Regions from separate parts of the Homo sapiens genome. Here regions 1, 3 and 4 are each linked to region 2. The links are contacts of gene promoters, found by promoter capture Hi-C in blood cells and fetal thymus (Javierre and others, 2016). All regions are on one chromosome and are shown on one strand. The core of a region is centred on a gene start or on the middle of the fragment in contact, and the rest is flanking DNA. Distances in the headings are between cores, read along the strand shown. Region 1 has its middle 24 kb from the start of RIPK4. Region 2 holds the start of UMODL1-AS1 (UMODL1 antisense RNA 1). Region 3 overlaps PRDM15 (PR/SET domain 15). Region 4 has its middle 41 kb from the start of RSPH1.

The links. Contacts are between HindIII fragments. The CHiCAGO score rates a contact against its expected background, and 5 or more counts as called.
Region 1: a contact is called between a fragment that was not itself captured here and the fragment with the promoter of UMODL1-AS1 in region 2, in 3 of 17 cell types (erythroblasts, monocytes and endothelial precursors). The highest score is 6.1, in erythroblasts.
Region 3: a contact is called between a fragment that was not itself captured here and the fragment with the promoter of UMODL1-AS1 in region 2, in 1 of 17 cell types (total CD8 T cells). The highest score is 5.7, in total CD8 T cells.
Region 4: a fragment that was not itself captured here is called in contact with the fragment with the promoter of UMODL1-AS1 in region 2 in 1 of 17 cell types (M0 macrophages); the score reaches 5.2 in M0 macrophages.

The regions. Positions count from the first base shown.
Region 1 is chr21:41,788,593-41,794,328 of GRCh38, forward strand. No RefSeq gene overlaps it. Among named protein-coding and RNA genes, the nearest start is that of RIPK4, 24 kb to the left of the region's middle. The HindIII fragment of the contact is 5,101 bases long and covers 396-5,496 here.
Region 2 is chr21:42,104,525-42,110,833 of GRCh38, forward strand. UMODL1-AS1 (UMODL1 antisense RNA 1) reads right to left here and starts at 4,010. Exons shown (of 2, transcript NR_027243.1): 1 at 3,772-4,010. UMODL1 (uromodulin like 1) reads left to right here. Exons shown (of 23, transcript NM_001004416.3): 10 at 5,038-5,175. RefSeq lists an enhancer at 3,159-3,278 and a silencer at 3,255-3,549. The HindIII fragment of the contact is 14,881 bases long and covers 2,863-6,309 here.
Region 3 is chr21:41,830,817-41,836,367 of GRCh38, forward strand. PRDM15 (PR/SET domain 15) reads right to left here. Exons shown (of 24, transcript NM_001040424.3): 10 at 5,297-5,391; 11 at 4,621-4,708. Among named protein-coding and RNA genes, the nearest start is that of PRDM15, 46 kb to the right of the region's middle. RefSeq lists enhancers at 2,663-2,732, 3,513-3,632, 5,448-5,551. The HindIII fragment of the contact is 3,368 bases long and covers 1-3,295 here.
Region 4 is chr21:42,452,468-42,458,730 of GRCh38, forward strand. No RefSeq gene overlaps it. Among named protein-coding and RNA genes, the nearest start is that of RSPH1, 41 kb to the right of the region's middle. The HindIII fragment of the contact is 1,374 bases long and covers 2,770-4,143 here.

The DNA.
Region 1 (5,736 bases), core at 1,696-4,195, 320 kb before region 2:
CCCAGGGGGCATCAGAATGTACTACAATTTTAGACATGAGATTTACATAATGATGTCAGATAAATGCCTTTTTCATTTGCTATTTCCATTATGTAATCATCGAGCATAATAAAGATCACTTGTCATAAAGAACCATTTTCTACTGGACAGTTACATTCCATTAATCATTAAGGTAGCATGGAGAATTAAAAGGCTTGAATAATCATGTTTTACCATTTGCTGAAAAGGGACAACAAATATAACTTAATGAACAAAGTTGAAGAATTCATTAGTGATCTTATTAATAAGAGTGAATCATTGGAGATGAGGATTTTCGAGGCTCATGAAGACTTGAAAATTTCAAGTGATAATTCAAACTGGATAGAACACTTTCAGCTATTGGTTTGAAGCTTCAAAGCTTTGATGGCTAAGGAAGTATGTCTTCCAACAACACCTAGACCCAGAAAAAACATGGTTAACAGTAAAAGATGTTGGGAGCCTTTTCTCCCCATGGTTCATCCGAACTGGGCAAATTCTTTCTCTTATCTCTCCAAATTATGATCTTAATTGTTAAATTTTTCTCTTAGAATACAGCATGAATAATTTGTACAACCCGTACTACACAATACTAGTTACATGGAAAATACAAACCACATTTTAAATGATTTAACATTGGTTATAAGGCAGTTCCACAATTATTCCCCAGAAACCTATACACTGATCTTCAATTCTGTAATCTGACTCCTGGGCATTTATTCCAGAGAAATGAAAACTCATGTACACAAAAATATTCACACAAATATTCATAGCAACTTTGATTCAGAATAGCTGCAAACTGGAAACAACCCAAAATTGTCCTTCAATGGGCTACTGCCTAAATAAACCATAGTGTACCCGCATAATGGTCTCAGCAATGAAAAGGAATGAACTGTTGACACACCCAGCAACTTGGGAGCATCTCCAGGGTGGAGATGCTGAGTGGAAAATCACAAGGTCAGAAGATTGAGACCACCCTGGCCAACATGGTGAAACCCAGTCTCTACTAAAAAAATACAAAATTAGACGGGCATGGTGGCGCACACCTGTAATCCCAGCTACTCAGGAGGCTGAGGCAGGAGAATCGCTTGAACCCGGGAGGTGGAGGTTGCAGTGAGCTGAGATTGAGCCACTGCACTCCAGCCTGGGTGACAGAGGGAGACTCTGTCTCAAAAACAAACACAAAAGAAAAAAAGGAAAAACCAATCTCAAAAAGTGATACATTTGGTATCTTGACGTGGGGCAGATAAACAGACCAACACAATGATACACCAGCATTGTATAGAATCTAATACACACACAAACACACACACAGGGTATAAATGAAATCTGAATAAGACCAGTGGATTATATCAAAGTCAAATCTAACTGTGATCTAGTACAATAGTTTTTCAAACTGTTACCGCTGGGGGAAACCAGACAAAGTATAAGAGATCTCTCTGAATGATTTTCGATAACTGTATGTGAATCTACTATCTCAGTAAAAGTTGGTTTTATGTGATCTGCTATCTCAATAAAAGTTTCCATTAAAAAATCATGGTTTTGGGAGGCCAAGGTGGACGGATCACCTGAGGTCAGAAGTTCGAGACCAGGCTAGCCAACATGGTGAGACCCAGTCTCTCCTGAAAATACACAAATCAGCCGGTGTGGTGGCACGCACTTGTAATCCTAGCTACTCGGGAGGCTGAGGCAGGAGAATCGCTTGAAGCTGGGAGGTGGAGGTTGCAGTGAGCCAGCATTGTGCCACTGCACTCCAGCTTGGGCAATGGAGTGAGACTGTCTCAGAAAAAAAAAAAAAAAAAAAAGCATGGTTAACATGTAAAGAATAATACCTTGATAGACAAATATACCATATTTTTTAAAGTTATAGAATGTATGATTCCATTTTATATAACATTCTTGAAATGACAAAATTATAGAGGTAGAGAGCAGATGGTGATTGCCTGAGGCTAGGGAATGGGGGAGGGATTGGGGAGGGTAGGGAATGGGGAGGGATCAGGGAGGCTAGGGAATGGGGGAGGGATGGGGAGGGGAGGGAATGGGGGAGGGATTGGGGAGGGTAGGGAATTGGGGAGGGATCAGGGAGGCTAGGGAATGGGGGAGGGTAGGGAATGGGGGAGGGATCAGGGAGGGTAGGGAATCGGGGAGGGATGGGGGAGGCTAGGGAATGGGGAGGGATCAGGGAGGCTAGGGAATGGGGGAGGGATGGGGGAGGGGAGGGAATGGGGAGGGATGGGGAGACTAGAGAATTGGGGAGGGATGGGGAGGCTAGGAAATGGGGGAGGGATCGGGGGCTAGGGAATGGGGTAGGGATGGGAGAGGCTGGAGTGCAGTGGCACAATCATCGCCTACTGCAGCCTTGATCTGCCAGGTTCAAGTGATCCTCCCACCTCAGCCTCCTGAATAGCTGGAACTACAGGCACATACTACACACCAGCTATTTTTTTTGTTTGTTTTATTTTTTTTTGTGGAAATAGGGTCTCACTATGTTGCCCAGCCTGGTTTCAAACTCCTGGCCTCAAGTGATCCTCCTGCCTCAGCCTCCCAAAATGCTGGTATTACAAGTGTGAGCCATCACACATGGCCTCTCGTACATTTTATAGGTCTCTATATTATAAGTCCCATAATACATCATCTTTACTTTTGCTTGACTTTTAAATATATTTAACTGATAAGATAATAAAGTATTTGAATCTACCCACATTGTTACCATTTCCATTGTTCTCTGTGTCCTTGGACAGGTCCAGATTCCCACCTGCTATCACCTTCGCTCTGCGTGGAAGACTTCCTTAAAGAGAACTCGCACTGCAGGCTACTGACACTGAACTCCTTCAGCCTTGTGTGTCTGGAAAAGTCTTTAATTGGGGAGCTGATTATAATCCCCAAAAACACAATCCCAAACACCATAACCCCAAACGCTGAAATCCCAGAAGATCAAACCTGAAAATCACAACCCCAAAAGATCAAAATCCTGAAAATATAATTCTGGAAAAAATAATTTTTAAAAACATTTAAAAGATATTGCAGTTCAGAAACATATCAAAACAGGACTGCACACTTCATAGACCACTTTATACAACAAAATAGGTGATAATAATAACATATACTTTGCAAGCGTAAACACTCAGGTAAACTAATGACAGTCGCACAGGTTATGAGCAGATGAACCACATTCTTTTTTTTTTGAGATGGAGTCTCGCTCTTGTTGCCCAGGCTGGAGTGCAATGGTGCGATCTCAGCTCACTGCAATCTCTGCCTTCTGGGTTCAAGCAATTCTCCTGCCTGAGCCTCCTGAGTAGCTGGAATTACAGGCACATGCCACCACGCCTGGCTAATTTTTGTACTTTTAGTAGAGACGAGGTTTCGTCATGTTGGCCAGGCTGGTCTTGAACTCCTGGCCTCAGGTGATCTGCCCGCCTCAGCCTCCCAAAGTGCTGGGATTACAGGCGTGAGCCACTGCGCCTGGCCAGATGAACCACATTCATAAAGAAATAGGTCAAAACGGAAAGGTAAAAACACATGTCACTATCGGTAATTGCGCACACCCAGCTTTCTAACTGTGGTCATCTGAAATACCAAACGAACAAAGTGTCTTTCAACAAGATCAATCAAAACCCCCGACGGGTCACCACTGCATGTAGTTGCCCAAAGAGCCGAAATCTGGATAAATTTTATCTTTCACAAATGCAAATGTACAAAAAGAACATCTCTTCATTTACTGAGGAAGTTTCAACATTTTCTGATGTCCAAGGCAGCAGAAGAAACGTCTGTCCAAGCTCTCAGAGATAGACCAACTTGCCTTCTGTATTTGTTCTCTCGGGCACCCCAGCTGATTGGATGGTGCCTGCCAGCATTGAGGGCAGATCTTGCTCACCTCGTCCACTCAGACTTGCACAATAATTTCCCCAGGAGACTCACAGACACACCCGAAAGAATACTTTACCAGGTTTCTAGGTATTCTTCAATCCAGGTAAGTTGACATCTAAAATTCAGTCCACATGTGCCAACCCTGGTCAACTTGGCACACATAGGTATCTCATTTGACCATACTTAATTTCCAAATAAAGACAATAAGCTGATAGTTTTACTTAACATGATGCAACTATGCTATGATTGTGATTTTCAGGATTTTACCCTTTAGGGATTTTGATCTTCTGAGATTTCAACATTCGGGAATATTGTGTTCAGGGTTGTGTCTTTCAGGATTATTATCTAAACCCCTTTATTTGGCCTTCTTTTTTGAAAGATATTTTTGCTGGGTATAGAATTTATCCTGACAGTTGCTTTCAATGCTTTCCCTATGTTGCTCCAGTGTCTTCTGGCTTGCATCTCCTTGATGTGAATTTGACGTGTCATCATTATCTTTGTTCCTCTGTATGTGATATGTCTTTCCTCTGGATTCTTCCGGGTTTTTGTCCTTATTACTGGTTTTCAGCAATTTGATTAGTAAATGCCTTAACATAGTTTTCTTCATGATTCTTGTGCTTGGTGATCACTGAGCTTCTCAGATATGTAGTTTTATGGCTTTCGGCAAATTTGACAACATTTTGCTCATTCTTTTTTTTTTTTTTTGAGACAGAGTCTGGCTCTGTTGCCCAGGCTGGAGTGCAGTGGCGCGATCTCGGCTCACTGCCACCTCCACCTCCCGGGTTCAAGCAATTCTCCTGCCTCAGCCTCCCGAGTAGCTGGGACTACAGGCGTGCACCACCACACCGGGATAACTTTTGTATTTTTAGTAGAGACAGGGTTTTACCATGTTGGCCAGGATGGTCTCGATCTCTTGACCTCGTGATCCGCCCGCCTCGGCCTCCCAAAGTGCTGGGATTACAGGCATGAGCCACTGCACCCGGCTTCACTATTTCTTCAGATATTTTTTTCCATCTCTTTCCCTTTTCTTCCAAGGACTCTTCAAAAACTCTAATAACATATATTAGGCTGCTTGAAGTTATCTCAAAGCTCGCTGATGCTCTGTTCATTTTCTCCCTCTTCTTTTTCTGTGCATTTTATTTTGAATAGTTTTTTTTTTATTGCCCTAGCTTCACTGATCTTTTCTTCTGCAATATCTGACCTGCTGTGAATACTATCCAGTATGTTTGTCATGTCATCACTGAAATTTTCATCTCTGGAAGTTCAATTCATTTTGTTTTTAAAAAACTACATCTTTCATGCCTTTAACAGGTTTAATTATTTAATTATTCCTCTAGCTTTTAGAACATCTGAAAAACAGTCATAATTTCTCTTATCTTTGTCTACCAATTCTGTCATTTCCAAGAAGATTTGATGGGTTAATTTTGCTCCTTATCATGAGTTGTATTTTCCTGATTCTTTGCATGCGTGGTCATTTTTGATTGGGTGCTGTCCTGATTTTGCATTGCTGGGTGTGAGGTGTTCTTGTATCTCTATAAAATATCCTTGAGCATTGTTCTGGGATTCAGTGAAGCGTCTTGGAAACACTTTGATCTTTTCCACGTTTTGCTATGAAGCTTTGTTCAGTGGGACCAGAGTAAGGTTTAGGGGTCATTTCTCCTCATTTTTAGGCAAAATGCTTCTGAGAACTCTGCCCAAATTTCCCTAAATTAGAGAATTTTTTCTCTCTGCATGCTGGGAACAGGTCACTTCCTCACATGCGTGCTTGTCCGTACTCAGCTGAGAGTCATGGGGTCCTCTGTTGAGCTCTGGCGCTGTCTCTGCACAGCCCTCTCCTCCCCCATACCCTGCCCT
Region 2 (6,309 bases), core at 2,760-5,259:
CTGCAACCTCCGCCTCCTAGGTTAAAGTGATTCTCCTGCCTCAGCTTCTCCAGTAGCTGGGATTATAGGCGCCTGCCACCACGCCTGGCTAATTTTTGTATTTTAAGTAGAGACAGGGTTTCACCGTGTTGGTCAGGCTGGTCTCGAACTCCTGACCTCAGGTGATCCACCTGCCTCAGCCTCCCAAGGTGCTGGGATTACAGGCGTGAGCCACCGCGCCCGGCCTCTGTGGGTCTATTTCATTACGCTGTGTGTTATTTCATTTTACTTGGTGTTGCCTTGAAGCAGGAGGTCATGGACACAGGACAGACACAAAGAGACAGAGAGATAAAGAGAGAGACAGAAAGGCACGGAGACCAGGTTCTTGCTGTCCTGCAGCAGGCACGGAGTTCTCTCCTGGCTGTGAGGGCACACACAGTCTCTAGATCCACAAGCTCCAGTTTTGGGCTCAATCTGTGGAGTGGGCACCTCTCTGGTCGTCTCCCGGGGTGCTGGGTCTTGGAGCTCAGCCACGTGCTGGCTTCCTGTCCCAACCTTCCCCCACCAGGAGGTGCCGGGAAGAACTGGGTTGGGTGTGGGGGGATCTACTCTTTGAAGTCATGCCTGGAAACCTCGGCCTGGGGTTACTCTGTTCACTTGGCACTCCCTAAGGATGGGGATACTACAGTGGCCCCTGTACCTGGTAAGATCCCACCTAGCTGGGCTGCAGGGTAGGGCCTGAGGTTGGGGTCCACAGGGTATGCCCCCAGCAGGGTCCTCAGTGTGTGACCCCGTGATCCAACCTTCAGGCGGATCCAGCCTTCAGGTGGATGCCACCCAGCCCGCCCTCCACACCTCCCTGCCTCCCTCCTCCCATCCTCTGGGACTAGGGCTCAGGCGATTCCAGATCCCTGCCAAATGAGAACCTCGGCAGCAGGGATGTCGTGGGTAGAATGGTGGCCCCCTCCAAAAAGATATGTTCACCTGGAACTTCAGAATGTGACCTTATTTAGAATAAGGGTGTTTGCAGACACGATTAAGTTAAGGATGTCAAGATGAGGTCCTCCTGCCGTTGGATTTGGGTTGGCCTGAAGTTCAGTGACAAGTGTTCTTATACGAGACAAGAGGAGGAGACACAGACACAGAGGCCAAGATTGGAGTGATGCAGCCACAAGCCAAAGGACTCCTGGAGCCACAAGATAAGACACTGGAAGAGGCCTGGGAAAGCCCCTTTCCTAGAGCCCCAGAGGGAGGGCGGCCCTGCTGACACCTGGAGTTTGGACTTCGCCTCCGGAACGGCGGGAATACATCTGTGCTGTTTCAGGCCCCCCAGCTGGTGTGTTTGTGATGGCAGCCACAGGAGACCCGTGTCTTGCACCTCTAGGACTGGATGAATCCATTGTAAGCATTCGCAGCACCCCACTCCCCACGCTGTTCAGTGGTCCTGCAGAAGTTATTAAGCTCCTTCTGCAGGCTCTTGCCCGGCAGGGTCCCGGGCAGGCTGTGGCCTGCTTCCTCCACATTTCAGAGCTGAGGTGCTGGTGCGGGCAGGTCTCCTGAGCTGGGGGGTCAGCTGTGTGGCCAGTGATGGTGACGCCTCAGGCCGTGCATGGCCGGGGAGGCGGCCCTGCCTCTGCACTCTTTTGACTCCATGACTACTGGTGTCTTCGGACGCCAGAGTCGGGGGAGCAACCATGGGGCACCGCCCCTGCCTGGGGAGGCAGCACGAGGCCTGAGCCCAGCTTACAGGGGGACATCCACCCCCGCTGAGAGCCCCACCTTCACGGCGAGGATCTGTAGAAGAAGACATTTGATATTACTCGGCAAAAAAAACAAGAAACGAAAACACAAAAAGAGCTCCTCTGAAGAAGAAAAGGTATTTGCGCTGTGGTCCACCTAGAAATAATGTTGTTGGCACAACTAGAGCATTCCTCAGTCATTCAGGAGCACTCCCTGCCGGTGCGTCCACATGTCCCAACCCCGATAGATGAGGCGCTGTTCGCCCGTGGAGGGGTCAGGTTGTCGTGACCTTATCTTTACCCTTAGGCCGTCCATCCCGGGGCCTGGGGTTTCCTGCGCCAGTCACGGTGGGCTGTGTAGGTGGCCATGTGTTCGGTCTTTCCCCAGGAGGTACGTACCATGTGCTGGGAGGCCTGGAGGCTGAGCCGCCCCCCGCGCCTATGAGTTGCACCCTCACAGCGGCGGCCAAACCTCCTGCTCACTTTGCCCCATAGGAAGAGGTTAGAGTGAGGCGGAACGGGTTGGAATCCCAGCTCTGACACTCACTCACTGTGGGATGCTGCACAAATGACTTCCTCTCCCTGGGCCTCAGTATACTCATCTGTGGAATGAGATTACAGCAACATCCCACCTCCTATGGCGATGGAGTAAATTAAGGCACAATGCCTGTGTGGGTTTAGCCCAGTGCCTGTGCATGGCGACAGTGCATTTCTGATGGCCCCTCCAGCGTTCAGGGCTAACTCTTCCAGGATTAACTTTCATATCTTGGATGAGAGCTCATCTAGGAAGGTCTCCTAGCAACCCCTGGGTTCCCACTGGTCCTTCCGCCTCACGGGGCTCCTTTTTGAACCCCTCACATCATTTCCATTCAATCTCTTGCTCCTAACAGCACGGCCCCTATTCCTTCTCTTTCCCAACATCTGCTCTCAGGAGAGATTCTCATACAGTGTGCATTTGTTCTAGAGTGAGGGTCATCACTGGGCTTCTATGAGGCACCGCTGTGAACCCTCTGCACCGACCTTAGCCAGAGGAGCAGGACTCCCACCGGCATCCTTCTGCGTAAGAGGCCTTGTGGGTCTTCTGGGGCTCTGGAATCAACGCCGCTTTTCCTGGGGCCAGAGTAGGTGGAGCTGAGCTCCCCAAAGCTTCCAGTTTGCTGCCTGCTCCCACCCGCCTCGCCACTGCGCGAGCCCTTTCCATCCCCTCTGCAGAGTGAGAGAAGGGCCGTGAGTGAGGATCCTGGCCTAGGGCTGTCACCATCCCCCTCACCTGCTGGCCAGGCTAACCTACTGCAGGCTGCTTCCTTTCCTTAGGTTCACGGGTACCGCTATTTGTCCAGCGTCCATTTGCGGTGGCATTAGGATGAGGTGCTCTGTGCCCTCTTTCTCCCAGTGTGAATCTGACACACGCCCCCAGGAGAGTCCGAGGGGCATCACTTCTGGAGGACGCCCTGGGCCCTGAAAGACAGCTCATGGTCCAACTGAGGAGCCTGCACCTTGCTGGGACAGGGTGGCCCAGGAGATCTGGGGTCTGTACCTGCTCCTGGACCCTCTCCAGCTTGTTGTTCTGGGTGGGGCCAGCTCAGGAGGGGCACCTGGGCTGGGAGTCTCTGAAGCAGCTGCCCCCATTGCTCCAGGAGAGGGCTCAGCCCTTGTCCCAGCTGCGGGGCCAGTGGGAGCAGTGTGCAGCGTCCTGCCCTGGGCTCTCGCTGGCTCTGCGCCCTCGCCTGGCCAGCCCGGGAGGGTGCAGAGGCTCACTGGCAGCTCTTCCTGCTCCCACACCTGCCTCTTCCTCTGAACTGGAGGGCCGGCAAGCCTCAAGGCTTAATGCAAGACTAAATACAGCTGTCAGCGCCTTCCTCTGAGCTCGCTTGGGAGCTGTCTGGGGGGACGGAGGAGTGAAGATTAGGTGAATCACCACGCCCCAAAATAGACATCAGGTGCTTGGTGGTTTGAGCCAGCGTCTTGCCTGGTGCCTCTGCTGTCCTCCGTGGACTGCAGCCCAGCCAGCCTAGGCTCCAACCCCAACCCGGAGCACCCCCAGGAGAGTTACCTGTAGGCTGGAGGTTGAGTAGCACCCCAGGAAGAGGTGTGGGTTGGCACCAGCAGTGTTCTGATGGCAAGGCAGCCCCCAGGCCATGCTAGGGTGGTGGCATAGCTGTTGTGGCAGCTGACGAGCTTGCTGTTCTCCAGGGAAGCTGCTTCTGTGGAGACCGCAGGAAGCACAACAGAAAAAAACCCACAAAACGAGCCTCAGAGCACTCAGCAGCAGGGTTTTCTTTGCCCAGAACTGAACTGGTCCTGCATCGTGGCTTAAATTCCACCTGAATTGGAACTTCTCTGGCATGCCGGGTGTGGGTTCGTTCCCGAGCACCTCCACCCGCAGCTCTACAGAAGCACGCGCAGAAGGCACTGTCACCTCCAGCAGGGCCTGGCCCTGACGACCTCGGCTCAGCCACCCCATGGGAGCTACATTGTCCTTGTCCTCACCTTCATTCCCCTCAGGCGGGCCCCCCGGTGACATGACATCACAAGTCTTTGGGCACAGGAGGAGGGACATACCTGTGGAGACACCCGGGTGCTCTAGAATATGGCGCGGGAAGTTCATGTTGTACTCCGCTGGACCCCACCCCCGGCGTGGGAAGTTCATGTTGTACTCAGGCTGACCCCCACCCCCCCCACGAGAGAAGTCCATGTTATACTCAGGCTGACCCCCACTCCTGGCATGTAAAGCTGGTGTTATGCTCAGCTGGACCCCCACCCCCGGTGTGGAAAGCTCATGTTATACTCCACTGGCCCCCACCCCCGGCGTGGAAAGCTGGTGTTATACTCCGCTGGACCCCCACCCCCGGCGTGGAAAGCTGGTGTTATACTCCGCTGGACCCCCACCCCCCATGCGGAAAGTTCACGTTATACTCAGCTGTGTCCCCACCCCTGGCTCAGTTACTTTCCTATTTCTTGGTTGAGACACTAAGTATTGGAGAATGTTGGCACATCAAAGAGAGAGGAGAAAACATTTCAAGTTTTGGGTGTGGAAACAGAATAAAGAAGAGAGGGCTACATGCACACCCATGGGTGCTAATATTTAAGGAATGAACATTTCCTAATCTTTGCCCCCAAATAAGCCAACCAATGTGAAGGTGGGCACAGGCAGGCCGTAAGGTTGTCATGAGAGTGTTGGACGGATGCCCCAAAATGCCCCTGCTCCCGGCCGTTCACTGCAAAGACGGCTAGGAAGGACTCCTTCCAGCATGGGTCTGTCTTCTGATCACTCTTTGGCTGTTTTCTCATGGGTTTTGATTGTGTCTCCCCCTGGCAGACTGGGACGAGTGTGTGGACAGCGCGGAACACGACTGCTCACCGGCTGCCTGGTGCATCAACCTGGAGGGCTCCTACACCTGCCAGTGCCGTACCACCAGGGACGCCACCCCCTCCCGCGCAGGCCGGGCCTGTGAGGGTACGTGTCGACCCCCCTGCCGACTCTGGGAAGACCCCCTGCCCGAGAATCTGGGGGTGGGGCAAAGCCCAATTCTCCATAGGCACAGGGCTGAGGACCTATGGTAATGTTAGGGGCCTACAGAAATGTTTTCATTTCAATTTATTTTAAAATCAGAAGAAAGAAATTAATAGAAGGATAGTAAATATACATAAAACAATGAATCTAGCTTGGATTACACTCATCTCTATCTAAATGCCATTATAAAATGTAATTTTTGATAGATTGTTAAGTGGAGGGGTGCAGGGGTCCATGAAGGCCAAGTTCCTTGGGCCCACAGAAGTCAGGATGCAGCCCGGGGTCGAGGGATTCCTTCCCCAGTGGCCTGGAGCCCGAGAGGGTGTGGCCTGGAGCCCGAGACAGTGTGGAAGCCCAGAGAAGCTGCAGAGAGGCCCGATGGGGGCCGCTGAGCTCTAGTCCTGCTGTATCGGCCCCCAGTCTTTTCTGTGGACCAGTTCTGATGAGTGGGTCGGGGATACCTGGGATGCTGAATTGAGCAGCAGGAGGAGGCCACGTAGGGACCTAAAATGCAGTGACTGATTAGCAATGTCGGCCCGGACACAGGCGTGGCAGAGGCGCCCAGCCACTGGCTTGCCAGCCCCTGCTGAGGGCTTTCTAGCTGGAAGGAGCAGCCGAGACCAGTTCCCTGGGGAGAATATTCCTTAGACACTGCGTGTGCTGTCCTGCTTCCTAACATCCCACACCTTGTCTTCTGTTTTTCTCATTCGCCTAATGTCCTGCAAGTCGATGACAGCATCCAGCACCAAGTCCCACATTGAGCACAAATCTGGGGGAAATTGTCCCATTTTCCCAGAGTCCTGATGGATTAATCTGAGGCCTATGAGAACCAAGCCCTGCATTCAAGCCCGGGTTTTGTAGCCCCCCGGGTGGATCCCTCACCCTCAACTTCAGTTTCCTCATTTATCCAGTGGAGAGGCGTGATTTGCCTTCAGAGAGCCCCGGGGAGGCTGCAAACATGGGCCCAGGAAACACTCCTGAACGCTGGCGCCCGCCTGCGTCCCTGGCCAGGTCCACTCCGGGATGCAGAGCAGTCCTGCTGGACGGCCATGCTGCCCTCCTGGGAGGGCTCTTACT
Region 3 (5,551 bases), core at 362-2,861, 280 kb before region 2:
CTGTGGTTTCGGCTCCGCCCAGGACACTGACAGCCCCCCAGTGCCATCTGTCCCTCTGACTCTCACACAGGCACCTCGGGGGTCCTCACTGCCCAGTCCCTCACCCTGCAGCAGCAGCCCCAGGTCCCCTCGCCCTGCCCCCATCCATCAGATGTCTCACCAGTTGACGGCGACCCCGGGGCCCAGCAGAGCTGCATTCTCCTCCCTGTGTCGCCAACGTGGGAGGACATGACAGCTGGGTGACCCAGGAGCGGGGCACCAGAGCAGACTGCACTTCTGGGCCCCTGGGCTCTCACCCATGGACCAGCTCCCAGGCTCAGTGTTTGCCAAATATACAAATCCCCAAAACTGCACTGAAAGCTGCCATTTGTGCAAAGCAGCCGCCCTGCGCCTGTCCCTCTCTGCTGCCCGAGGGAGCCGCCACAGAGTGTCTCAGGGTCCCCCTGTCTAGGGTTTCCCTGCCTCAGCGTTTTGGGCCAGATCCTTTGTTGTGGGCCACCCTGTGCACCGTGGGATGCTGAGCAGATACCGGGCTTCCACCCAGTAGGTGCCAGGAGCACCCCTCCCCACCAAGGTGTCTGCAGACATTGCCGACAGCGTCCCTTGGGGCAAACGCCCTCCACTCTCCACCCCCGCCAGGTAGAGATTCACTGGCCAGGGCTCACAAAATGAGACTCTCTGGGGTGGGCCTTGGGCCTCCGCATGTGTCTGGCCTCACTCAGGTGATCCCAATGTGCAGCCCAGGTTGGGGGTGAGGGAAGCAGACAACCTCCCCCGGGAGAGCCAGGCGCTCTCAACTCCTCCCAGCTGGGAATGGACAAGGCATGGCCGACAGCGAAGACAGGAGACAGCAGTGGGGAAATCTATGCCCCATGGGTGCCACCCTCAGGACAGGGGAAGCGCTGGGAGGGGACAGTCCCCTCCCACAGCTCCAACCACGGCAGGACAGTGGGAGGTGGCCTCTGCCAGGGCTGAACACAGTAGAGGTGGCCCTGTGCGAGGCTTCTCTGCCCACATCCCACCCCACCTGCAGCGTGACCTCAGCCCAGAGCCAGCCTCACCTGGGCCATAAGAGGAGCACCGTGACAGATGCTACGCTGAGTCCCAGCCTAACATACTGCTTGCCTTCCTTCTATAAAGTGAAACATTATCCATACAGCCACTGCCCTCAGTTTCGTTTTGGCTTAAGATTTGATGGGCTCTGTCCGGATCCACACGACCGCATGGTATGTGTCCTTCACACACTGCGTCTGAGGCGTGCGTGTTTACAGTGCTGGACGTTTTCATGATCACTTTAATGGCTACGTGATATTCCATCCAGCTCACTTCTCAAAACTCACTTTGCTATTTTTGACACTGTAGATAATTTAGTGATGGAATCTTTAGTAATGCAGATTTTTTTCTTCTGTCAAATCTCTTTATCATGAATTCTTAGGAATGGGACCACTAGAGCCAAGCGCTTTGTGAAAGGCCACACCTTACAGCGCTGTGGCATCAGATTGCCACAGGCCACACCTTACAGCACTGTGGCATCGGATCACCACAGGCCACACCTTTACAGCACTGTGGCATCAGATCACCAGAGGCCACACCTTACAGCGCTGTGGCATCGGATCACCACAGGCCACACCTTACAGCACTGTGGCATCAGATCACCACAGGCCACACCTTTACAGTGCTGTGGCAACGGATCACCATAGGCCACACCTTTACAGTGCTGTGGCATTGGATTGCCACACTCCCCTCAACCTGGGCCTCCTGAACAGCATAGGTGAGCCTCCCTCCCAGCCAGGCACTAAAGAGCACAGGTGAGCCTCCCTCCCGGGCAGGTGCTAAAGAGCACAGGTGAGCCTCCTTCCCAGGCAGGTACCAACCAATACAAGTGAGCCCCCCTCCCAGGCAGGTGCAAATCAGCACCCATGAGCACCCCCTCCTGGGCAGGTGGCTCCACTAGTCCTGCCGCCCCGTGGAAGGCAATGGTGCTGCCAAGAGCTTCAGCTTTCTCCCTCACAAGCCCCTCGTGACCATGGAAAGAGAACCTACTTCAGGCCACTCCCCAGCTGTCCCGGACAACTCTGCCAAGCCGAGGGTGGCTTCTCCCGCAGCCACCCACTCACTGCCAGTTCAGGAACCCACAGGGGCACTGGGTCCCAACAATGCTTCTCCCTCCAATAACCCTGCGCCGAGGGGATCTAGGTTTATGTCTGAATAAATGAGCCACTGAGAACAGCTGCCTACTGGGGTCTGACGAAGGGAGAGGGGTGCAGGGCACCTGGGGATGGAGAGGGGATTATTGGGGGAGGCTGGTGGGCCGCATTTTGCCTGAGGGCCTGGACGTGAGCCTTTGCTATTCCGTAGCACAGTACTTATGGTCAGACACAGCACAAGGAACACGAAGATGAGTTACACCAGCACCTGGTCACACCACAAGGGACAGGCACCACAACAGGTCCCATGGAGGGAGCTTCAGAAAAACCCACAAGACTGTAACATTTTAAAACTGCCCCCCACACCCCTCTCCAGGGTGTGCTATGAGTCCTCGAGAGAGGGTGACACAAAGGCAACAGTGACCCATCCCTCTGTGCCCCGCTGGGGACCCCCACTGCTTGGGCCTCCAGTGCCACCCACCACTGGGAATGGGGAAGGCGTGACTCCCACATTCTTGGTTTAATTCTTGGTACAAATTCTTGGTTTAATTGTCTAAGGAAGATACACATTCTCTTAACTTCAATACTATAAATAAGTATAAGAGCATGCAAATCATATATTATGCAAACAAGCTCCATTTCAAGGTTTTTATCCTTTCTGTTCAGTCTAAAACGGGTAACCTTTGAAACTAGAACATCTCAGGGGAAGAGGTGGTGCGATGCAGGTCCCTGGCGCTCTGCGGGTTCTAGGTGACTAACAAAGGCCAGCACCTGGCCTAACAGCACCTCTGGCTGACAGGAAGCTGCTGCTGCCTTAGCCGCTTCTAGTACTTTGTTTTATTTGGGTCCAGAGAAATAGTTGAAAATATCAGAGGGCAATGCCTCTTCCTCAACCTTGAGTCTGCCTCACCAGAGCGCCTTAGCTGGTAGCATCACTCTTGGGAACCCCGAAACCCTCGCCTGCTACACTCCTGCAGGACTGCGGGGACCCCAAGGGGAGGTTCGCAAACAAGATGAAGGTTCATCTGTCTGGCCGGGGCTGCGTTAAGTGGAAGTCTTCAGGGGACTGTGCCCCAGGTTTCTTGGGAATTCTTGTGATAGGAGGGCTTAAAATGCAGGAGGTGCGGCACACTGGAAATTCATCCAGAAGCTTCTGGAGGCCACCTCATGCCAGACATGGATCCTTCAGAGCTGCTAAAGCTTAGGCAAAACATGACTCATTCCTGCCCCTCAGAACAGTCCAACCCCAGGAAGAAGGCATCAGGGAGGAAGAACCAAACCCTGGTTTCAAATAGGAGCCCTCAGAGTAGAACTAGCCAACCCCACCAAGGGCCCCCCGCGCCCAGCAGCTACGGCAAGGGAGCAGGGCCTCTCACATGGCCCATGTGCGACAGCCCTGGTCAGAGCCCCTGGGAGTCCGCTGCTGCAGGTGCCCTGTTCTCAACACAGGGGCGGGTGGCACCTTAACAAGAACAACACAGAGATGCAAGTGACAGACACAGAGCAGGCGGACAAGGACGGGGTGGGCGTCGAAGGCTAACCTGGTAGGTCTCTAAGCCGACTGCCGCCGGGCCCCCCCTCTCCAGGGTGTGCTATGAGTCCTAGAGAGAGGGGGACACAAAGGCAACAGTGACTCACCCCTCTGTGCCCCGCTGGGGACCCCCACTGCTTGGGCCTCCAGTGCCACCCACCACTGGGAATGGGGAAGGTGTGACTCCCACATCCCAGAGGGTGCACGTCATCACTGCAGAATACAGGGGCGTCCTCGGGCCACGTGGAGAAGCGCAGCCGGCAGGACGGCCTTGGCTTTCCTTTGGTCTGTTTACTTGCCAGCAGCAAATTCGGCCAGAGAGACAGGGGCCTCAGACGCCCCCCAGGCCCGAAGAGGCCACCTCTCCACTACAGGCTGGTCCAGGCACACCCGGCTTCAGGCCTCACACAAGGAAAATGCTTTATTTTTGGAAGCTGGTGCACACAAGCAGGCTCAGAACAAAAAGAATGCGTGCAGGGGCAACCCCGTTCCACCCTGGACGCCGCAGGAGATGTGGATGGAGGAGGGCTCGCGGTTAGGAACAACCTTTGCAAGCAAGCGAGGAGCGCTCACACTCCTCCAGCCATTATCCTGATCTTTTCCTTTCTTCCTCAGACGGCCCTAGAAAACATTGGACACTGCTGCTCCCTGTTTTTAGCCAGAACGGACCCCGGCTTTACAATGCTCTCAGTGTGGGGCCATACGCAGCTCGGCTGACAAATGCAGGAAGAAAATCAATCCCTTTTTACTGGAAAGTTTCCATCTGTGTATCTTTAGGGTAACAACTGCTTTGAAGCAAAATGGACAGAGGGAAATGTTAAAAGTGAGGCTGTCTATTCATGAAAACAATCTTTACTTTGGCCTAAAGTTCCACGGTCTCCGCGGCGTATCTAGAATCCGTACCGCACAGCGGCCGAGGGGAGACGTGACCGGCGCCCTCACCTGTCCTGCAGTTGTGGAACTCCAGCGCGCTCTCGATGCGGAAGGTCTTCTCACAAGTGCCGCAGCGGTACCTGTACTCGCCGTCCACCTGGTCAGAGGGACACGCCGTGAGTGAGATGGCCCAGCGCAGAGTCCACAGATGCCGAGCCCCCGACGTGCTGCCCGGGCGACTCCACGCCTGTGTCTGTTATGACTCTGACCTCCACCACCCTCCCGCTCTATTTAGGAACACAAAGGATGTTTGCTCTTGCTGTTCACCTGCCCTAGAAAGGGAACTCCACACTCAGGGAGCCCCACTCCAAGCACCAAACACCCCCATTCTCCTGACTCTTCCTGCTGCGCTTGTGGGCATCTGACCAGGACGAGGGGCTGACAGGTGGCCCAGGGACGCCAGGACACCCACAGCCTTCACCCGCTCTCATCCCTCCTGGGACTCTCCCTTCTCAGGGACACCTGGGCACCCACAGCCCTCGCCCACTCTCCTCCCTCCCCCACAGGGTTTGGCCGCTCTCCTCCCTCCCCCACAGCCCCCGCCCACTCTCCTCCCTCCCCCACAGCCCCCGCCCACTCTCCTCCCTCCTGGGATTCTTTCTTCTCATTACAACATGGTGATTTGGTCAGTTGTCTGTGTTGTCCACACAACTGGGAAGAGAACCCTGGGCTTGTTTCCACCCACCTCGTTCCTGCTGTGCTTGTAGGAAACGTGCTGCTTTAGGCTCTCTTTGCGGCTGAACAATTTTGCACACTCTTCGCACTTAAACAGCTTGTCACCTGAGGAACCAACCAACAGAGAGCTCATTCACTACTTAGAGCATTTACCGAGAGAAGCATGCCCACCGGGGAAATGCCCCACAAGCCGCCTCGCTCCCACCATGCGAAGGAGCTGCAGAGATGATCGCCCACAAATGCAGCCTCTCACTGGCGCAGCTCG
Region 4 (6,263 bases), core at 2,207-4,706, 350 kb after region 2:
TGATAAACAAAGATGTCTCCACATGCTGCCAAATGTCCCTGGGGGAGCAGGATCATCCCCAGCTGAGAAGTACCGATGTATTCCCTTCACAGGTCTGCATGGAACCCTGGCCTCAGGGCTCCCACCAGGGCACTCAGGCATAGCGCGAATGGGCACAGGTGTGTTAGGAGTCTGGAGTCGCACATGTGCACTCCTGCTGAGCAGACAGACCTTTATGGAGACGAAGGTTGGAAAGGAATCGGTGCACATCTCGAGCTGAACACTTGTGTGATGCTGCTACGGAGGAAGTCCGAGCAGAACTGGAACTTTGCGGACACTGCCCCTGGACGTAGGTGTGGGCCTGGGCAGGGGGAGCCACGCGGAGGTGCGACCAAGTCCTGCACGGACCTCACTGCCTCCGTGTGATGTGGTGGCTGTGCTGTGAGGGCAGCTGAGCCCTGTGTCCAGCCTCGTAGTCCTCTTGGCTGGCCCCACACTCAAATTCTAGAACATTTAAGTGCAGTGCACCGTGGACACCACGAGGCTCCACACTGTTGGACTCCAGTCCTTTAGCCCAGCTGGGAGCAGCCCTGACACAATAATTCTTCAACAGAGGCTTCTCCTTAACCCTGTCTCATGCTTCTCCTCTCCCCTCATCCCCAAGGCCGACAGATGGTGGCTGCACACACATTCAGGAGATTGCAGGAAATAATTTCCAACAGCAAATGAGACATTAATTATTCAATGCAGATAAACATCAACAACAGCGCTTCATCCAAAGGAATTCCACTGGGATCCAGGGGCTCTGAGTTGGAGCCCAGTTCGGTCCTCTACTCATGGTGACCTCAGACACAGTCTCTGTGTCTCGGGCTCACTGCTGTAAAATCATGCGGCCTGTCGATGGGTCCATGTCACTTGCAGCATCTTAGTCCTCATTCTGGAGGACACGTGCCCTCTTAGCAGTGAGCCCTGGAGGGGCTGACTCGCAGTGTCTGCTGTGTTTTCCAGTTTCCATGATGTAAATGCACCAGGGCTGATTCTGGGCTGCCAGTGTTTTGACAATTGATTTGCAGACTGCGTGAAAATTTAAAACTCAGCTCTCTTGAGCTGATATGAGCCACCCCAGCCCACCCCTGCAGCAGGCACGAACGTTAGTTTGCAGGGAGAGGCCAGCTGAGCTGCTGCACAGACCTGCTGGGATCATCACAGCTGTGCGCTTCAGGCCAGTGCCTCTTCCTGTAAAAGGAAACAACATTCTCTCTACAGAGGATGGAAGGACAGAAGGGCTGAGGCCCATGTGCAGGCGGGGTCAGGAGAGAGAGGAGGCCAAGTCCCTGGGTCTAGGAAAGACGGGTGGGTGGAGCCAGGCCAGGGGCACTAAGTGGAACGCTGTCTGCTCCCTGCGGAGCACTGGACAGACTTTTGGTTCCAGGGATTCATCCCGAGCTGTGTCTCTTCCGGGATCCTTGGCCAGCAGCGACTCTGGCACCTGGAGCACACCTGAAGAGAGCCCCCAAGCTCTCGCCTCTCTCCAGCCCTGCTATCCAACCAGATGTTCCCACTCCTGCTCCTCCCTGCCTCATCGCCTCAGCCGCCCGGGGTGAGCCACCTACTCTCCCAAGGCAAGACACAGCCGGCATGCTTCACACACTCACCTTGAAGTTCAGGGTTGGAAGGTCAGTCCATCCAGCTGAAGTTCACTGCTAGAGATGTAATTGAATCAGCCCTGGCAGGAGCATTTGGACCACAGGAATAGGTAAACACGGCTGCGAGTCAGCCCCTCCAGGGCTCACTGCTAAGAGGGCACATCGTGTCCTCCAGAATGAGGACTAAGATGCTGCAAGTGACGTGGACCCATCGACAGGCCACATGATTTTACAACGGTGGGCCCGAGGCACAGAGACTCTGTCCGAGGTCACCATGAGTAGAGGACGGAACTGAGCTTTAACTCAGATCCCAGTGGAATTCCTTCGGATGAAGCGCTGCTGTTGTTTATCAGCATTGAATAACTAATGTCTCATTTGCTGTTGGAAATTATTTCCTGCAATCTCCTGAATGTGTGTGCAGCCGCTGTCTGCCGGCGCGTGGGGGGTTCTTCATGAAAAGTGAGAGGGGTCCAGCTGTGTGAAAGGCCTTTGCAAATTGCCACAGCAAACTCCCAGAATTATGATGTACTTCTTCCTGTGTGGTTCCAAGTAAATGCCACTTCCGGCTGTCCAGTACCATTTTTTCCTAGGACTTAAGGCCACAAAAATGGATTAAGAAACACACATGTATACATGCAATCTTCCTGGTGAAGTCTTCAAACAAAGTTCTCCAAGAAGTCATTAAAAAATTAATCATCTGGAAATGTCATGTTTCTCCTTCTCTCTCCAAAATGTATTTCTTTCAACCATTAACTCATTCTCTTTCATTGTGTCCCATAGTGAGACAAAACTGTGTTAGGACAATAAACCAAGCAATTTTCCAAAGAAGCTATAGCACGAAAGCAACGTAAATCCCGAAGGAGAAACGCCTGCGAATGAGCTCACCGAAGGCACACTCTCCTCCCAGGAGCCTCCCCGGAGAGGCAGCCCGTTTATTTGAGTTAGTGATTTTGGAAGACACACTGCACTTTCTTTGCCTCCAGCTATCCTTGAGCCATTTTGTTCTCCTTGCGAGGTACTGATAGCACTTATTATCTAGAAAATATAACCAGACTTTGAGGAGAGGCAAGGGGCCCTATAAATTATTTATTTTTTTGCTTCTCAAACTCTGGACCGAGGACCAGGATTACAGGCATTGCCTGGAAGCTTGTTACAAATGCAGGGCCTCAGGCACCCCCGTCTCCGTGTCAGCAGCTGTGTCTTAGCAGGATCCCCAGGGCATTGCCTCACAGTCAGGGTGGTGCAAAAGTCCCGCCTGGCATCCTGGTGAGTGGACCAGGAGGGGGCAGGTGAAGGCGATATTATTGGTCCTTCGACTCCAGACAAGAACTTGCAGCTTAGCCTGAGGAAAGAAATTAGCCCATATGATGAAACACAATCTGATGACGTAAGGATTTTTGTACTTATGCCCACATGTTTAGACATGGCAGCCCGCATCCTCTTAAACCTGAACTTTAACATACCGTGACTTAGAGCCACAAACAACAAAACAGAGGGCAGGAACCAGAGTTCTCCAGAGAAACAGCCAGTGGGAAACAGGACCCACATCCATACGGATACAAACATACAGATACAGGCTGGGAGAGGGAAGGAGAGAGGGGCATTGGCTCACACTCTTACAGAAGCTGAGAAGCCCCACGATCTGCGGGAGCTGTTGGCCTCCCGTCTGGAGGCCAGTAGGCTCGAGACCCAGAGAGAATCGATGTTTTCATTCAAGTCCAATGGCAGGAAAAAGCCAATGCCTCAGTTCAAAGGCCGTCAGACATGAGGAGTTTCCTCTTAGCCTTTTGTTCCATTCAGACCTTCAACTGATTGGATGAGGCCCACCCACCCTGGGGAGGGCCGTTTGCTTGACAGTCTCCTGATTCGAATGTTCGTCTCATTCAGAAACCTCCTCACACACCCCCAGAGTGACACTGGGTCAAAACGTCTTTGCACCCTGCAGTCCAGTCAAATTCACATGTGCAGTTGAGCTTCACATTGGGCATTTCTGCCCTGGTAATGTCCTCCCATTACCAAAAACCTGGTATTTGTCCTTCTTTTCAGTGGGTTTCACAGCCCAGCAGCAGCTGGCCCTCTTGTAGAGCAGCAGTTCCCAGCCTTTTGGCACCAGGGACAAGTGTCGTGGAAGAAAATTTTTCCACAAACCAGGGTGGGGTGGGGGTGGGGAATGGTTTTGAGATGATTCAAGTGCAATTACATTTATTGTGCACACTTTATTTCTATTATCACGTTGTAATATATAATAAAATAATTATACAACTCACCATAATGTAGAATCAGTGGGAGCCCTGAGCTTGTTTTCCTGCAACTAGACAGTCCCATCTGGGGGTGATGGGAGACAGTGACAGATAATCAAGCATTAGATTCTCATAAGGAGCTCACAACCCAGATCCCTCACATGCACAGTTCACAGTAGCGTTCACAGTCCTATGAGACTAATGCCACCACTCATCTGACAGGAAGCGGAGCTCAGGCAGTAATGAGAGCAATGGGGAGTGGCTGTAGATACAGACGAAGCTTCACTTACTCATCCACCCACTGCTCATCTCCTGTTGTGCAGCCTGGTTCCCAACAGGGGTTGGAGGCCTCTGTTACAGAGGACCCTCTCCTGACCGCCAATGAGACCCATGAGCTCACCGTCTTGTCTGCCCTTCCACAGCCCACGCTCCCTCCTCAGCCCACGCCCCCTCCTCAGCCCACACTCCCTCCTCAGGCTCAGCACTGGGAAGAGTTCGTCCTTCCTCACCTCAGCCCTCAAGTGTGGAGTCCGGCGCCTCAGTCATCCACTCAACAGACATTTATGAGGGAATGTTTGGGTGCCATTAACACTGCTGGGAAAGCAGCAGTGGATCAGATACAAGCTCACTCTCAAAGAGCTTATATTTCAGTGGAAGGTGGTGAGCAATGGACTAATAAGCCAGTGAACACGTAACACCTCCTCTGCCAATACGTGAGGTGAAGAGAAGACAGCAGAGAGGGGGACAGAGGCGGAATACAAATGTTATGTTAGCAGTGAACAATCAGTAAGTAAAATAAAAACATCACTTATAGTAGCATAAAGAAACCAGAAGCAAAAGAGGATGTACTGCATGATTCAATTTATATACAACTATTTAGAGACAAATCCAATCTGTGGTGACAGAAAGCAGCACATCAGACGCTTAATGCTGGGAGTAGGGGAATGGATTGCAAATGGGCACGAAGATATTTTCAGGCTGACGGGAATCTGTGTGCTGATTGTAGGGTGGTATATTAGTCTGTTCTCACGCTGCTAATAAAGACATACCTGAGACTGGACAATTTATAAAGGAAAGAGGTTTAATGGACTCACAGTTCCACATGGCTGGGGAGGCCTTATAATTATGGCAGAAGACGAAAGGCACATCATACATGGCAGCAGGCAAGACAGAGAATGAGAGCCAAGCGAAAGCAGAAGCCCCTTATAAAAATCATCAGATCTTGCAAGCCTCATTCACTACCACGAGAACAGTATGGGGAAAACTGCCCCCACAATTCACTTATCTCCCACCAGGTCCCTCCCCAACATGTGGGAATTATGGGAGCTACAATTCAAGATGAGATTTGGGTGGGGACACAGCCAAACCATATTAGGTGGTCACATGGTTGCCTACATTTGTCCAAACTCATTGAACTGTTCACTTAAAATGGATGTTTTACTGTCTACAAAATATACTTCAAGAAAGCTGATATAACATGTTTTTAATTTTTTAATTAGATTGGGATATTAGGCTACTGGTACCAATGCCCAAGGGCTTCCCGTGGGCCCCACGGAGGGCCAGCTCTTGTCACACCCACCGGGTGAGGCACAGAGAGGCCAGTGTTCCCTGAACCCATAGCCAATGGCAACTGATAGAGCACTTTACATATATCTTTATGATGGTTAGGGTATTTGGATGATTCTGTTAATTTCTGAGTTGTCTACATTTTGGGGCGTTGGTTGAAAGCGACACTCTTACCATGTTCGCACAACACAGGAGCCAGATTTCGAAGTGGCACAGGCAGTCTAGGGTTGTAATTACATGAGCTCAGGTTGGTTCCTCCGTCCCTTAGCCACCAACCCCCTTCCAGTCCCTCTTCCACATACCTCTCTTCATTCTGCGCTGTATTATTATTATTATTATTATTATTATTATTATTAAAGATGGAGTCTCACTCTGTTGCCCAGGCTGGAGTGCAGTGGCATGATCTCCGCTTACTGCAAGCTCCGCCTCCCAGGTTCACACCATTCTCCTGCCTCAGCCTCCCGAGTAGCTGGGACTACAGGCACCCACCACCACACCCGGCTAATTTTTTGTATTTTTAGTAGAGACGGGGTTTCACCATGTTAGCCAGGATGGTCTCAATCTCCTGACCTCCTGATCCACCCAACTTGGCCTCCCAAAGTGCTGGGATTACAGGCATGAGCCACCACACCTGGCTGCTGTATTATTATTTACTCACATACATATCTTGCCATGACGTTGCAGGGATGCAACATGAGTTTACTACTCCATGCTCCTTCCACATAGCCACCCCCACTCCTGCCCAAGCCTGACTCCATACGCAGTGTTTGATCATAGTCCCCATTCCATAAACTGTGGTCATATTAAAAGTGAATAAAATAATCCCCAGAGT